2 separate regions of the Homo sapiens genome follow, and region 1 is linked to region 2. Evidence: promoter capture Hi-C in 16 types of primary human blood cells and fetal thymus (Javierre and others, 2016). All regions are on one chromosome and are shown on one strand. The core of a region is centred on a gene start or on the middle of the fragment in contact, and the rest is flanking DNA. Distances in the headings are between cores, read along the strand shown.

Region 1 (6,744 bases), core at 341-2,840, 83 kb after region 2:
TCATGGTGGAAGAAGGAGAAAGTGGAGAAGGGGAAGTAGAAGGGAGAGGAAGAGAAGAGAGGGGAGGGGAGTGGGGAGGAAGGGAAGGAGTTCTTCACTGGGTGGCCTGCCCTTGACTGATTACTCTGCAATGTTGAGATGGCATAGGATAAGCCTGTTCATACTTACCAAATCCAAGTCATACGTCCTCTGGGTTTTCAAGCATTCAGGACACACATATCCTCCTGGTGACTTGGACCTCGGGGTCTGTTTCACCCTGATTTGCAGGGACTCCATATTACTCCTTTTCCCCTCTGCTCATCAATGATCACTTCTCTTAAAACTTTTCTTCTAGGATTGACACAGATCCCAACCATCAATTATTCAGACAGCTTGCCCAGTGGGGTCCTGTAGTCCCCTGGGTTTGCCAGCCTTCCTCATGCAGAGATGGAGGAGGGCATAGACTGAGTTTGGGAATGAGAGTCAGGGAAATGGAGATGGAAGACACCTGTGTCCTCTATACCTTCTTCTCACTAATTCTGCCTTAAATAATATAGAAGCGCCTGGCACCCTGCTGATTTCCCTGCTCTGGGCCTGCTATCTTCTCCCAACAACTGTGGCTGTTCCTCAGTACGTAAATGCCAAGGGCCTCCAGACAGCTCTGCCCATCACAGCTATCAAAAGCACACAAGTGCCTGTTAGCTCTAGCTATCCCCTCTGTCCCCACCAGGTTATCACTAACTTCTGCAGATTCCTGAAGGACTCGGCCAGAATGCATGACTGCTTAACACACTTCTTTTCTGCTCTTCACCTGCCTCTTCTCATTTGCACATCTGGAGCCGACAGTTCACTGCATGTAAACCTCCCAAAGCAGTGAGAAACACTGTGGCTGGCCAAGACTCCCCAAATTGGCAGCTGCATGGCATGGGCTGTCAAATATTACCTGTCTTTCGAAACAATACCACCCCGTAGTAGATTTTGTATTGTCTCAATCTGAACCTCTTGTCCCCCTCAACATTGCTGAGAGGTATCTGGTAGCAGGGAACAGGTATTTATTTTGCCTCCCCTCTGGTGCTAAGAACATAGCAGGTGCCTAATAAAAACTTGGTGACTTAATGAGAGTCTGTATCATTTCCTTTAGGCAACTTTACTCACCACTGCATGGCCTTTTCTGGTCAAGATGTGGAGTTGCAAGATCACTTAAATGTGAAGAGAGCTCAATTTCACCAGCCACTCATTCCCTGAGTCTTCAGGAAGCCATTATTTCCTTCCTGTTTCTATCAAGTAGCAAAAGATGTTTATGGAGCACTTGCTTTGAGTGTAAGCTACTGTGTTAGGGATGGAAATTTCTCTAAGCATCAGAAGGATCTTGAGTGAATCAATATATATTCCTTCTCCCCACAATGCCTGGGGCCTCTCTGGATGTCACGTATCCCTCTTCACTCACTACTTTTCCCCCTCCAGCACCTGGACGCTCCCACTCTAACCCATTCGGAAAGCTGTCCACTATAAGAAGCCCCAGAGCGAGAGCTTGACAGCCAGGCAGATTATGGCCAGGGGCTGAGGAGAGGGAGCCAAAGCTACACTTACTGCATCTGTTTCTCCAACTGCCACCTGCTCAGAAAATCGAACCTTCACAGGATTGGACCTCAACTTGGCCTTCTTCGCAGCACTGATGAAAGCAGATTTGGGGGACTGGAAAAAGAACAGAGAGATGGTGAGTTCTCCATATCTAGGGAAAGCCTAACCTTTGTCACGTCAGAGTTAAGATGTCCCAGTACAGGTACACTTTGCATTACTGATCAAGGAGTCAATAAACAAATATTAATTACCTATTAGTTGCAAGGCAATGTGCTAAATGCTTCCCTATGTAATTGGTGTGTTCTGAAACAGCTGGGCATGAATTGAATTTGGGTAGATTGAACCCCATTATTAATACTCTAGGCCTAGGGGAGTTTGCAAAAGTTCTTTAGTAATAACATACATTGAGTTTTTATATATTTGGTTTTCTTACAGTGAGATAGACCTAAAGGGTGTCTTTTTATTATTATTATTATATCTGAATATAAGCATCCCAAATAATTTACAGAAATGATCTTGTTCACCTCACAGACATGTCCTGCCCCTAGGAAGGAGTTGCATAATAAATACTATTTTAGATGTGGGAGAAAGGAGACCTAGCACTCCAAAAGGATTTATCCACAGTTACTACACTATTGGGGAATAGAGATGTGAGAGATTTAACCCAAGTCTTCTGGCTTTCTAGTTTTGGGCTCTGCACCACTTTGTTTATCCAATTCTGTAAGAAATGCCCAAAAAATCAGCCAGGCTTGTATTTATTTATTTATTTTTAGACGGAGTTTCACTCTTGTCGCCTAGGCTGGAGTGCAATGGTGCAATCTCGGCTCACTGCAACCTCCGCTCCCTGGGTTCAAGCGATTCTCCAGCCTTGCCTCCTGAGTAGCTGGGATTACAGTCATGTGCCACCACACCCAGCTAATTTTGTATTTTTAGTAGAGATGGGGTCTCACCATGTTGGCCAGGCTGGTCTTGAACTCCTGACCTTAGGTGATCCACCTGCCTCAGCCTCCCAAAGTACTGGGCTTACAGGCCACCATGCCTGGCTGGCTTTTTAGTTCTTGAAAACTCTCCCACAATTTTATCAGAAGCATGATTAGCAAACACTGGAAACTAAGCCTTTCCTGGGTGCCCCTTGGATTCTAGCTCCCTGCTGAGCTCTGTAAGGCCCAGCAATTAGGAATACAGGAGTCGTGCTGAGGGGCATCCTCATTGTCTTTGGGGGGGCGTTTATTCATTCTTTTGACAAATTTAGCAAGGGCCTACTACATGCCACACACTGTTCTAGGTGATGAGGGATAGAGCAGTGAATAAGACAGACAAAACTCCCTGGCCTCATGGAGCATCCATTCCAGCAGGAATAGACAGACGATAAATATCTTTTAGGTAGCAAAGAAGGACTTTGAGGAAAAATAAGGCAGGGTAAAGGACTACACAAGAGAATGAGTGAGTTAGAGTGGGAGTAGTGAGGGTATTATTTTAGCAATTTTGAAATACATAATACATTATTATTAACTATAGTCATCATGCTGTGCAATAGATCTCAAAAACTTATTCCTCCTGTCTAACTGAGCCTTTGTATCCTTTGAACAGCATCTCCCCACTCCCTCCCAACCTTAGCCTCTAGTGATCACCATTCTATGCTCCACTTCTATGATTTTGACTTTTTTAGATTCCGCATGTAAGTGAGATCATGTGGTATTTGTCTTTCTGTGTCTGGCTTATAATAATTATTATTATTATTTCACTTAGGATAATGTCTTCCAAGTTCATCCATGTTGTAGCAAATGACAGGATTTACTTCTTCTTAAAGACTGAATAGTATTCCACTGTGTATTTATACCACATTTTCTTCATCCATTCATCTGTTGATGGCAGACACTTAGGTTGTTTCCCTATCTTGGCTATGGTGAATAGTGCTGCCACGAACATGGGAATGCAGATGGCTCTTTGGCATACTAATTTCAATTCCCTTGGATATATATCCACAAGTAGGATTGTGCGGGTTATATTTTTAATTTTTTTTTTTTTTTTTTCTGAGAAGGAGTCTTGCTCTGTCGCCCAGGCTAGAGTGCAGTGGTGCGATCTCGGCTCACTGCAACCTCTGTCTCCGCGGTTCAAGTGATTCCCCTGCCTCAGTCTCCCGAGTAGCTGGGATTACAGGCAGGCATCACCATGCCCAGCTAATTTTTGTATTTTTGGTAGAGACGGGGTTTCACCATGTTGGCCAGGCTGGTCTCGAACTACTGACCTCAAGTGATCCACCCACTTCGGCCTCCCAAAGTGCTGGGATACAGGTATGAGCCACGGCGCCCGGCCACTGGGGGAGGTTATTTTAGACAGGATGGTCAGGGAAGACCTCTCTGAGGATGAGACATTAAGCAGAAACTTAAGGAAGTGAGGGAGAGACAGCCACCAGGTTATCTGGAGAAAGGCTTCTGGGCAGAAACTACAGTAAAGGCCCTGAAGTGAATTGAGGTGTATGAAGAACAGCAAGGAAGGCCAAGGTGGCTGGAGTGGCGTGATGGAGGGGGAGCAAGAGGGGAGATGCTCAGAGAGGCAGCTGGGGGCTGGGTCATGTAGGACCTTGTAAACCACGGTGAGAACTTTGGATTTCACTCCACTAGAGGGATTTGATTGAACAGAGTCTGATGTGCATTTTAAAAGGAAGCCTCTGGTTGCTGTGTGGAAAACAGAGTGTAGAAGGGCAATGGCAAGAGCATGGAGACCAGTTGGGGGTCTCTAAGTACAATATTTGTAACTGCAATAATATGGTTAAAACATAATGGAGGCTTGGGCTAGGATGGTACTGATGGAGTTGAAAAGTGAATGAATTCTGGATATATTTTGAATACTGAATTAGGATGATATGTTGACTGATTGGATATGAGAGTGAGAAAAAGAGAGACTTCAACTGAAAGAATGGACTTGCCATTTACTGAGATGAAGAGGACTAGGGAGTGAATCAGGTTTGGGGCTACTTCAAACCACCACCCCTATGGGCCTTGCCATGGAGCCTGAGTCCTACAATCAGGAATTTCTTTGTGTTAAGGCCCTGAAGGTCCCTGCCAGCTGGGAATACGTTAAGCTATTATCTACCATTTACACTGCAGTTGAGATTCATTTACCCAATCAGCCACAGGAGGGCAGGGCCCTAAGATACACATCAGAAACAAACGTCCTCATTGTGTCTTGGGCCCTGGTCCCAGCTGGCTCTGTCAGAGCCAGCAATCTCATTCCCACAGAGGGGAGATTGCAAAAAACCACTTCTTTCACCTGAGTCCAGCAGGAACTCAGGCAGTGAGTGTCAGTCCTGGCTGCATAGTAGAAATGCTGGGAGGAGCTTTTAAAAATCCTGAAGCCCAGGGCCCACCACAGACCAATTACATCAGAATTCCTGGGGGTGAGGTCTGAGCATCAGTATTTTTTTCAAGCTTCTGATGATTTCCAAATGCAGCCAAGATTAAGAACCATTGAGCTAAAGGAACCTTAGACTTCTCATCCTGAGCCAAAGGGGCAATTTGTTGGCAGCAGACAATATAGCACAATGAAATCCAGAGCTGGAGATCACTGCAGAAAGTGATTACAGTATTGATTATACATGGAGTTGATAAATGCCTTTGTGTGTTGCACAGCCTGGTGCTCCAATCCTGAGCAGGGGCTGCAGGCTGAGGCAGAAGCAAGAGAAAGGGGCAAGATAGAAAGATCTGTAGCTATGCTCAGGCAGCTGTGTTTGATTCCATCTCCACAGTCATCCAAAGTTCCACCAAGGTGCCACAAACATGAGGCAAGTGGAATCTTTCTACCTGACAGTCACCTCTCTTCTCTGCCATCATCTGCCCTCAGATGCCTGCATGGCACAGTGTGTAGAACGAGGCATCTCTAGAGACCTGAATGGGCCATGCAGCTCAACCTTCATTTTTCACATGTGAAACAGAAGCCTGGGAAGAGGATATACTTTACCCAAAGTATTGAAATAATTGAGTAGCAGAGCCGAAACCAGAACCCAGGTTTCCTGAGCCTTTGCTTAGTGGTTGTTCCCCCACAGCAGGCTAAAGCTGGGAGTCCTTTCCTGATCTTTCATCCACTGGTTCTGGTTCTACCTTGGTGTTATGTAATGGACTCAAACAAATGAAGAACCCCAACTGGTATCCTTTTATGTATTCACCACAGTGAAGAGGGTGGCATCCTTGCTATCCCTACCAAAGATGCAAGATTAGATCCTGTCCTAGAGAGTTTCTGTTTGTACCACTGAAAACCAAAGATTCAGTTAATTATAGGCACAAACCACAAAGGAGGAAATGAAATTGCCAATATTTTCAGGGATTATAATCATTTCCAGGTGTCTGTTTCAGAGTTATTTTCAGCTTGTTTATACTTCAGTCCTCATTGACCCTTGTCCTGTTGGTCTCTAAGATTCCATCCTATTCTCAGTCTTCAGCCTTGATGCTGGTGACTCATTCATTGCCAGCTGGTCTGTGCTAGATGTCATGGAGTCACATCTAGCCTTATGCTCAGACACAGGTGAGGCCTGCTTTGCAGTGTGATATGAGGAGCCTCTCAGAGGCCTCCGTGTCCCAAAGCATCTTCAAAGCTCAGCTCTGGGGCTTGAAGTTCGTAATATTAGGGGCACTCCTTTGAATTACAATGTTGAGAATTGGGAAGGCCCGGGTCAAAATGTGAATGCGGTAGCAGGAAGGCATAATACACTTCAGGGGCCAGCAAATTACAGGCCTACATAGGCCAAATCTTGCTCACCACCTGTTTTTGTAAATAAAGCTTTACTGGAACACAGCCGTGATCTTCATTTATGTATTGCCTATGGCTGCTTTTGTGCTACCACATATGGCCTGCAAAGCCTAAAATACTTATTATATGGCCCTTCAGAGAAACAGTTTGCCAACCTCTGCACTAATTCATAACCATGCACTAACCAGCTGTTTTTAAAACGTGCCTGATGATAAGAATCACTGAGGAGTGCTTGTTAAAGCACAGATGCCTAGGCTCACACCAGATTTTAAAAGTTAGAATCTCTGGAAGAGTGGGGCCCAGAAATTGACATTGTTGAAGAGATCCCAATCCATTAAGCATAGATTAATTGAGCACCTTAAGGCTGGAATGTTTGAGCTCTTCACTGACCCTATTTTTTTCTCCAAGCAGCTGGGAATCTCACTTTGCAACAGGCAC
Region 2 (7,358 bases), core at 3,296-5,795:
CTGTTTAAAAAATGTGGGGCTTTTGAAAAGATCTTACAAAAATGAAATAAAAGTAGAGAAACTTAGAAAGCAAATACATAAATAAAATAAGGTGGTGCAAGTAAACTAGGTGATACTGCCTTGTTTTAATGTGTATAATTCTAATTTCACTTATTAAAACCAATCTTTCCCTATAGTAGTACTATAACATACAGACTTTGTTTGACAAAGTCTTAAAAAGTCCGTGAATTGCACTCTGATTATACAGCTTGGTTCAACAAGTCCTCTAAAAATCTTAACCTTATTCTTATGGCTTCTTCTAAGTTATGGCAGTGATCGAGAAGAATATTTGTGCCTAAAACCTGTTTGCTCCTAACATAATCTATTAAGTGGAAAAACCTAATTCAGCAATTTAGAGAGTAATACTCCTTGTTCTCTCCCTCTAGTTAATGGAGTGTTCTCCAAATGGCTTTGGGCCAATCATTCTCTCAGCTGTTTTGGTGAGGCCAGAAGACTGGCTATGTCTATCCAATGAGTGAAAAAACTAGCTTCTCTTTTCCCTTTCCTTTAAGGTCAGGCATAAGTGTATCCAATTGAAATGGAATGTCAGGAAACACCAAAAGTGAATCTAAAAGGTGGATAGTAGTCTTAAGAAAATCTGAAGAATTTAGATTATGGAGATATTGGCATGTGCAAAATACATGGGATTAACTAACCACAACCAGAAGATACAGTTCTCAGGAAAACCCTAGGCAACCAAAGTTCAAGTCTTCCTCCTCTCAGCTAGTACAGAATAACCAAATAAACCAAAGTTATTTACAAATATTGAAGAGAATAGAGTCAAAATTTTAGAATATCTAAGTTTTTAAAGCCAGGTGAGAGATCTTGTCAGCAAAAATTTAAAGGAACAATAATACCCAGAGCTGGGCAAGTTACTCTGCATCTTACTGTAGTTCTCTTCTCTGTAAAATAGGGATAGTAAGAGTTATTCCTCATAGCAGTTTTGAGGGGATTAAACACAATGTATACTAAATGCTTAGCATGGAAACTAGCACATCTTAGGCATTCACTATACATTAAATATTATAGCCGGGCACGGTAGCTCACACCTATAATCCCAGCACTTTGGGAGGCCAAGGTGTGGGGGATCACCTGAGGTCAGGAGTTTGAAACCAGCCTGGCCAACATGGTGAAACCCTGTCTCTACTAAAAATACAAAATATTAGCTGGGCGTGGTGGCACGTGCCTGTAATCCCAGCTACTCGGGAGGCTGAGGCAGGAGAACTGCTTGAACCTGGGTGGCGGAGGTTGCAGTGAGCTGAGATCGCACCACTGCACTCCTGGGCAGTAAGAGTGAAACTCCGTCTCAAAAAATAAATACATAAATAAATATTATTAATATTGTATTACTGCTGATGAGACAGATTTGTTCAACTTTTCTGGGGAATAATTTGGCAACAGGTATCAAAAGCCTGAAAAATGGTATCTACCCTTTAACTTAATAATTACCTTCCTAGGGATTTATTCTAAGGAAATAATCAGAAATGGTCAAAGATTTATGTTCATGGATTTTCATATAAAAGCATTAGATCAAAAACTGGAAATGTCCAATAAGAATTTGGTTATATAAAATTATGGCATAACCATAAGGTAAGACTATATAGCTATTTAAAATTACATGAACTAGCCCACCTCAGTGGTGCATGCCTGTATTCTCAACTACTTGAGAGGCAGAGGCAGGCAGATCACTTGAGCCCGCGAGTTTGAGGATGCAGTGTGCTATGATTGTGCCTGTGAGTAGCTATTGGACTCCAGCCTGGGCAACATAGTGAGACCTCATCTCTAAAAAATAAATTAAAATCTTTAATAATAAAAAAAGAAAATCATATATACTAAATATTAAAGGGAGAAACTGTTCAAAATATATTGCTAAGTGAAGAGAGCTATAAATGTATTAAACATTCTTGAAAAAGTGTATCTTACACAAATATCTGGGAGGTCAGAAATGATAATGTGACATTTATGTCAGGTGGCAGAATTAAGAGGCATATCTTCTCCCTTCCGTGTTCTAAATTTTCCACATTTTCTGCAATATTATCACCACCCCTTCTTGTCAACATTTACTGTTGTACTTATTATGTTTTGGACAAGATCCTAAGAACTTTACTTCTATCTCATTTAATCCTCATAACAACAGTATGGGTAGGTACTACTTTACAGATTAGATTATTGGGGCAAAGAAAGGTTAAGGATTCAGATCCAAGTTCTCTGATTTCAGCACTTTTAACACCCACCCCCTCCGTGTGTGTGTGTGTGTGTGTGTGTGTGTGTGTGTGTTTCCTAAATAACCAGACAGCCAAGGATGATCCTTATGTTAGAAGAAAAGCTACTCTGCTCAAGAGAGCATCAACCAAGAGTCACCTGGGGGAGCAGTTATAGGGAGCAGTTACCATTTCTTCAGTATAGGAAAAACAAAGATAGGGGGAACTCCATAAAAAAAAATGTGATTATGTTCAATGAAGATTTCAGAATATCTAGGAAACAAGAAGCTAATGATTAAGCCAGAAACAAGAAAATCTAACCAGTCAGCAATTATCCATGTTGGACTTAATAGAAATCAATCAGTAGAAAACTAAGTTGTCCTCCCCCTCTCCTCTCCCAATATAGCCTCAGGTTCTGGGGTGCTGCATTATGCAGAGGGCAGAAGGATTAACACAAGGAGAAAATAAAGCTTTCATGCCTTCACATTTTTCCTAGACGCATAGGAAAAGGATTAAATATCCACAGGGGCCAAAGAAAACCTCTAAATGAAAAACATTCTTGTCCCCTAACTATATTGCCAATCACAAAGTCTAGTCCTGTTTTGTATTCTTTATTAAGGCCCATGAGCCATAATGGTTTGGAAAAATCTAAAGACAGCAGTTTGTAAGCCTCTTTTAACTAAGGTATTGCCTGGTTACAGATGGCAATGTTTACACTATCATTTGCATCACAATCAGTAGCACAATAATTCGGGAAGAAGCTGTCCATTATCGGTGACATTACTTTATCAGCTGGGTCTAAAAGAGATAAGGCGAGTTAAACTTGGAAATCAGTCCAAAGAAAGCAAAAAAGTAAGCAAAAACATTTAGGAAAAAATATTCGAAATATTCTTATCTGATTATTAGGTGAAAACTTTCCCCTTAACAAATCTGTAAGATTGTGGGCAGGGCTCTGATTTAATCGATAGGGTAACAATAAAATACAAATTACACCTATCAGAAACTAAAGATCCCACACTTAGGTGGAAGGGGCACTGAAATAATCAGGTAACCAAGTCATCTCTAAAACAGTCCCATGGTGCCGGTAGAGGGTGTAAGTCGGAGTCGAGGAAGCAAGTTTTACTGGCAAGGCAATGGAAAAAACGCAAGTTGCAATGCACTGTCCAATCCTAGTCTTCCACTACATTGCCTGTCCTCAATTATCTTTAACATTCAGGTATAAAATTGTTTCCTAAATTCCCTACACAGAGCTTAAAGAAGGAGCCAAGTCCAGGATGGACTCGGTTACTGAAAAATACGCTTTTGCATTATCTGTACCACTAGCTGCACTGGGGAAGGTCAAACATTCCAGAATTGAGATTTCCAAGATTTTTTGGATGGCTCAAGCTGAGATGCTGGCTATCAAGGATGCAGAGTCAACGCATCACTTTAACAAATCAACTAGATTTATGGCTCCAATTACTCAGGTAGATGATTCATAAGATGAGAAAAGCCAACGCTTGCTGATCTAAGGGAAGTCGTAATAATTTTGGCGCCTGCAGTATATAATGTCAGTTTCCCTCAACACCAAGCCGAACGGACCAACACCATTTCGAATCAAAAAGCTGCTTATTGGACTCTAGGAAAAGAAAGACCAGGAGAGCTCAGTACGCAGGTAGGCTCTCTAAATGCAAGCTAGTCTAAGAGCTGAAGCAACCCAGTCCAGCCTGGGTGGCTCAACAGCAAAGCCAAGCCACGTGTCCCTACCGCCCTGGCTAAGCGTCGGTCCCCTCTCGTCGCTCTATGCAGCCACTATCTATTGGGTCCCCCAGCCCTTGCCCTCAAACGCAGAAGCTTCGCCTCACACTCCATCTTTTGACTCCACCCCACCGCACGGTAAGAATGAACGTGACCCTCCCGCGAGAGGTAAAATAACGGAAACAGCCCGTGGGGTAGGCTAGTCACAGAGCTGCACCCTCTCCCCCCAACCCCCAGTCTGTTTGAGCTCAAGCGGCGACCCCATCCCTCCTATACTCTGCCGCCTGGGCAGGTGAGGTCTAGTCAGGGTCCCAACTTGGTCCTTACCAGGTCTCCTGGTTGCTGAATTTCTTAGTCACCACCTTGCCTAGCTCCAGGCCCAGGCGGTCAGCAATTTTCTGAGATAAGTCCTGGTGGGAGCTGCCGCTGAAGATTTTGATATTCGGCATCCTGGCCAACTACCCTAAGCACTCCACTAAGCGATCACGGCTGCTGCAGAGACCGGAACCGAAGTCGGCCACAGACTCAATACCAAGCGCTTTGCGTTGCTACTCCGCCATCTTACATTCCCGCCCGGCGCGCGGCTCTAAATTACCCAAAGCGGCGGAGGTGGGGTCAGCGGCGAAGTCCACACCCCGCTGGCAACGATTAGCTAAGAGGGAGCGAAGGGCGGGGTTTGGTCCTCGGTGTAGCTCTGCCTCCTTCCGATTCTCTCAGGTATTGGGTGAAGAGCATGAACGGGGGCGAGACTAACCCATAGCCCGGCCCCCTGTAGCTAGGCTGTTGGGGACAGGAGACGTTGGACTGGGGGTGGAGGGATGCTGGTGACGTCTGAGGCCAGATCGTTCCCGCTAGCGGGAAATCAACCATGCCTGCTTTTTTATTTCCCCTCCCTCAGCGCAGGAAAGTAAGTCTGGCTCTGGTTTACAGTTTCCTTTAAGAAAATCTGTTTATCAGGATGACAGCCACGAGTTTGCATGTTTCTGAACACATTTTTTATCTCTTTATAAGGATGGGGCTGAATTAAAACACTTTTACATCACAGACGTGCATGCAAGGAGTTTGCTTGCCCATTGTAATTGCAGTGTCGCCTTTGCCTGCAAGACAGTTTACATGGGGGAAGTGACTGAAGGCATGCCACCTGAATCATCCAAGAGACACTGCAAGAGAAAGTTGTTTTGTTTCTAGTGCTGGAACCAAGTATGTTGAAACAAGTGAAGGAAGATGGATTTTCCAAACTATCTGGACAATAAAGATCTAACTTTTATAGCCCTCGGAAAGGAAAGAAAGTATAGTGTTCTATGGGACTTCAGATAAAGAGCCCTGAAGGGATTTGAAAAAACCTGGGTTTTAGTCCTGTCTGCCTCATGTAAGCCTCAATGTCATCAGCTACATGTTGCTAATGTGGCCTTTTACACCATGTTTTATTATTTTTATAGCGATACTTGTTAATTGGACCTAAGTGAGCCTTTATTCTTGCACCATGTTTCCATTAAGCATATTTTAAGCATGGGTTAGGAGAAGATAAAAATCATACAATTCTGGAATCAAAAGTGACCATAGTGCTCATAACTACCAAATGTAAAAATAGAAGGGACCTCAGAGATCATATAGTCGTTTTACATATGATAAAACTGAGATGGAGGTGGGAGAGGGATTTATCTAAGTGGCAAAGGCAGAAAATACTCAAAGCAGCATCCTGTCTTTGTCTTACTGCTATTTTCAGCAGTGTCCATGGAGGACTTCTCCTTCTGACCTTTTTTGCACTTTTACAAGCTCAGAAATTTAATGTAGGCCCATGTATATAGGAATACTTGGAGAAGGAAGTAAACTGCAAGGCAGAATATTAGTAGTCTTCCATCATAGGCCATTCATCAAATATTTACTGAGTGTTCTATTGCATGCAAGGCAGTGTGCAAGGCGTTGAGGGGACTACAAAGTATTTGCCCCAAGGGATTCGTTCATTCAATAAATATTTAGTGAACATTCTTTATGTGCTAGGCCCTGTGTATTGGCACAAGAATACATTAGTAAACAATTAAAAATACCCTGCTGTCATGGAGTTTACATTCTCAAACAATAAACATGTAAATAAGCAAAATGCATAGTATGTCAAATGGCAATAAGTGTTGTGGAAAAAAAAATCAGGCAAGGAAAGTGGGATAATGTGCCAGAGTGTAGAGGAGAGGAGTACAATTTTAAGTAGGGTGGTCAGAGAAGACCTGTCTTGGAAGGTAACATTTGGGCAAAGACCTGAAGGAGGAAAAAAAAAACAAAAAAATGAGCCATGTTGATATCTCGATAAGCAAAGAGAACAGAAAGGGCAAATACCCTAAGGCAGATGTATCTCGCTTGTTTGAGGAATACCAATGCGGGACGAGTGTTGTGTGGTGGAGGTGGAATGTATCTATAAGAGAAAAGGAGGAAAGTGAGGTCAATGAGATAAGAGTGATTGGAGGCCGGCCAGGCACGGTAGCTCACGCCTGTAATCCCAGCACTCAGGGTGGCCGAGGTGGGCGGATCACTTGAGCTCAGGAGTTCAAGACCAGCCTGGGCAACGTGGCGAAACCTCGTCTCTACAAAAAATACAAAAATTAGCCAGGCGTGGTGGTGGGCACCTGTAGTCCCACTGAGGCAAGAGAATCACTTGAACTTGGGAGGCAGAGGTTGCAGCAGTGAGCGGAGATCGCACCACTGCACTCCAGCCTGGGCGACAGAGTGAGATTCTGTCTAAACAAAACAAAACAAAACAGTGATTGGGGGACTCAGGTGGGCACGATGGCTCATGTCTGTAATCCCAGTACTTTGGGAGGCCGAGGCGGGCGGATCACTCGAGCTCAGGATTTGCAGACCAGCCTGGGCAACATGGCAAAACCTTATCTCTACAAAAAATACAAAAATTAGCTGGGCATGGTGGCAAGCACCTGTAGTCCCAGCTTCTGGGGAGGCTGAAATGAGAGGATCACTTGAGCCTGGGAGGCAGAGATTGCAGTAAGCCGAGATCGCGCCACTGCCCTCCAGCCTGGGTGACAGAGAGAGACCCTGTCTCCAAAAAAAAAAAAAAAAAGGGATTGTGGGGAGAGTGCTGATCATGCAGAACCTTATAGGTTATTTTAGGGGTTTTTGCTTTAACTGAGTAAGAATTTTTAGCAAAGAGTGACATAATCTAACTTCCCTTTTAAAAAGATCACCCCAGCTACTGAGAACAGAGTGTAGGAGGCAAGATAGGAAGCAGGAAGACCGATTAGGAGTTAACTTCCAAAGAAAGTTGATAAGACATTTATACAAATAATTACAAAGCACAGACAATGTAATACGCTACCATAGAGAAGCCTGTGCTTGGATAATGTGGAGGCTGCTGTAACAAGGAGACTCTAAAAT

The links. The method cuts DNA at HindIII sites, captures the fragments that hold promoters and counts their contacts. A CHiCAGO score of 5 or more calls a contact.
Region 1: the fragment with the promoter of FRMPD3-AS1 here is called in contact with the fragment with the promoter of PRPS1 in region 2 in 1 of 17 cell types (megakaryocytes); the score reaches 5.1 in megakaryocytes.

The regions. Positions count from the first base shown.
Region 1 is chrX:107,540,667-107,547,410 of GRCh38, reverse strand. FRMPD3-AS1 (FRMPD3 antisense RNA 1) reads left to right here and starts at 1,590. Exons shown (of 2, transcript NR_046750.1): 1 at 1,590-1,696. It overlaps FRMPD3 (FERM and PDZ domain containing 3), which reads right to left. Exons shown (of 15, transcript NM_001388459.1): 5 at 1,570-1,674. The HindIII fragment of the contact is 5,600 bases long and covers 1-4,993 here.
Region 2 is chrX:107,625,697-107,633,054 of GRCh38, reverse strand. PRPS1 (phosphoribosyl pyrophosphate synthetase 1) reads right to left here and starts at 4,545. Exons shown (of 7, transcript NM_002764.4): 1 at 4,305-4,545. The coding sequence starts at 4,426. RefSeq lists a silencer at 4,658-4,707. The HindIII fragment of the contact is 4,384 bases long and covers 4,076-7,358 here.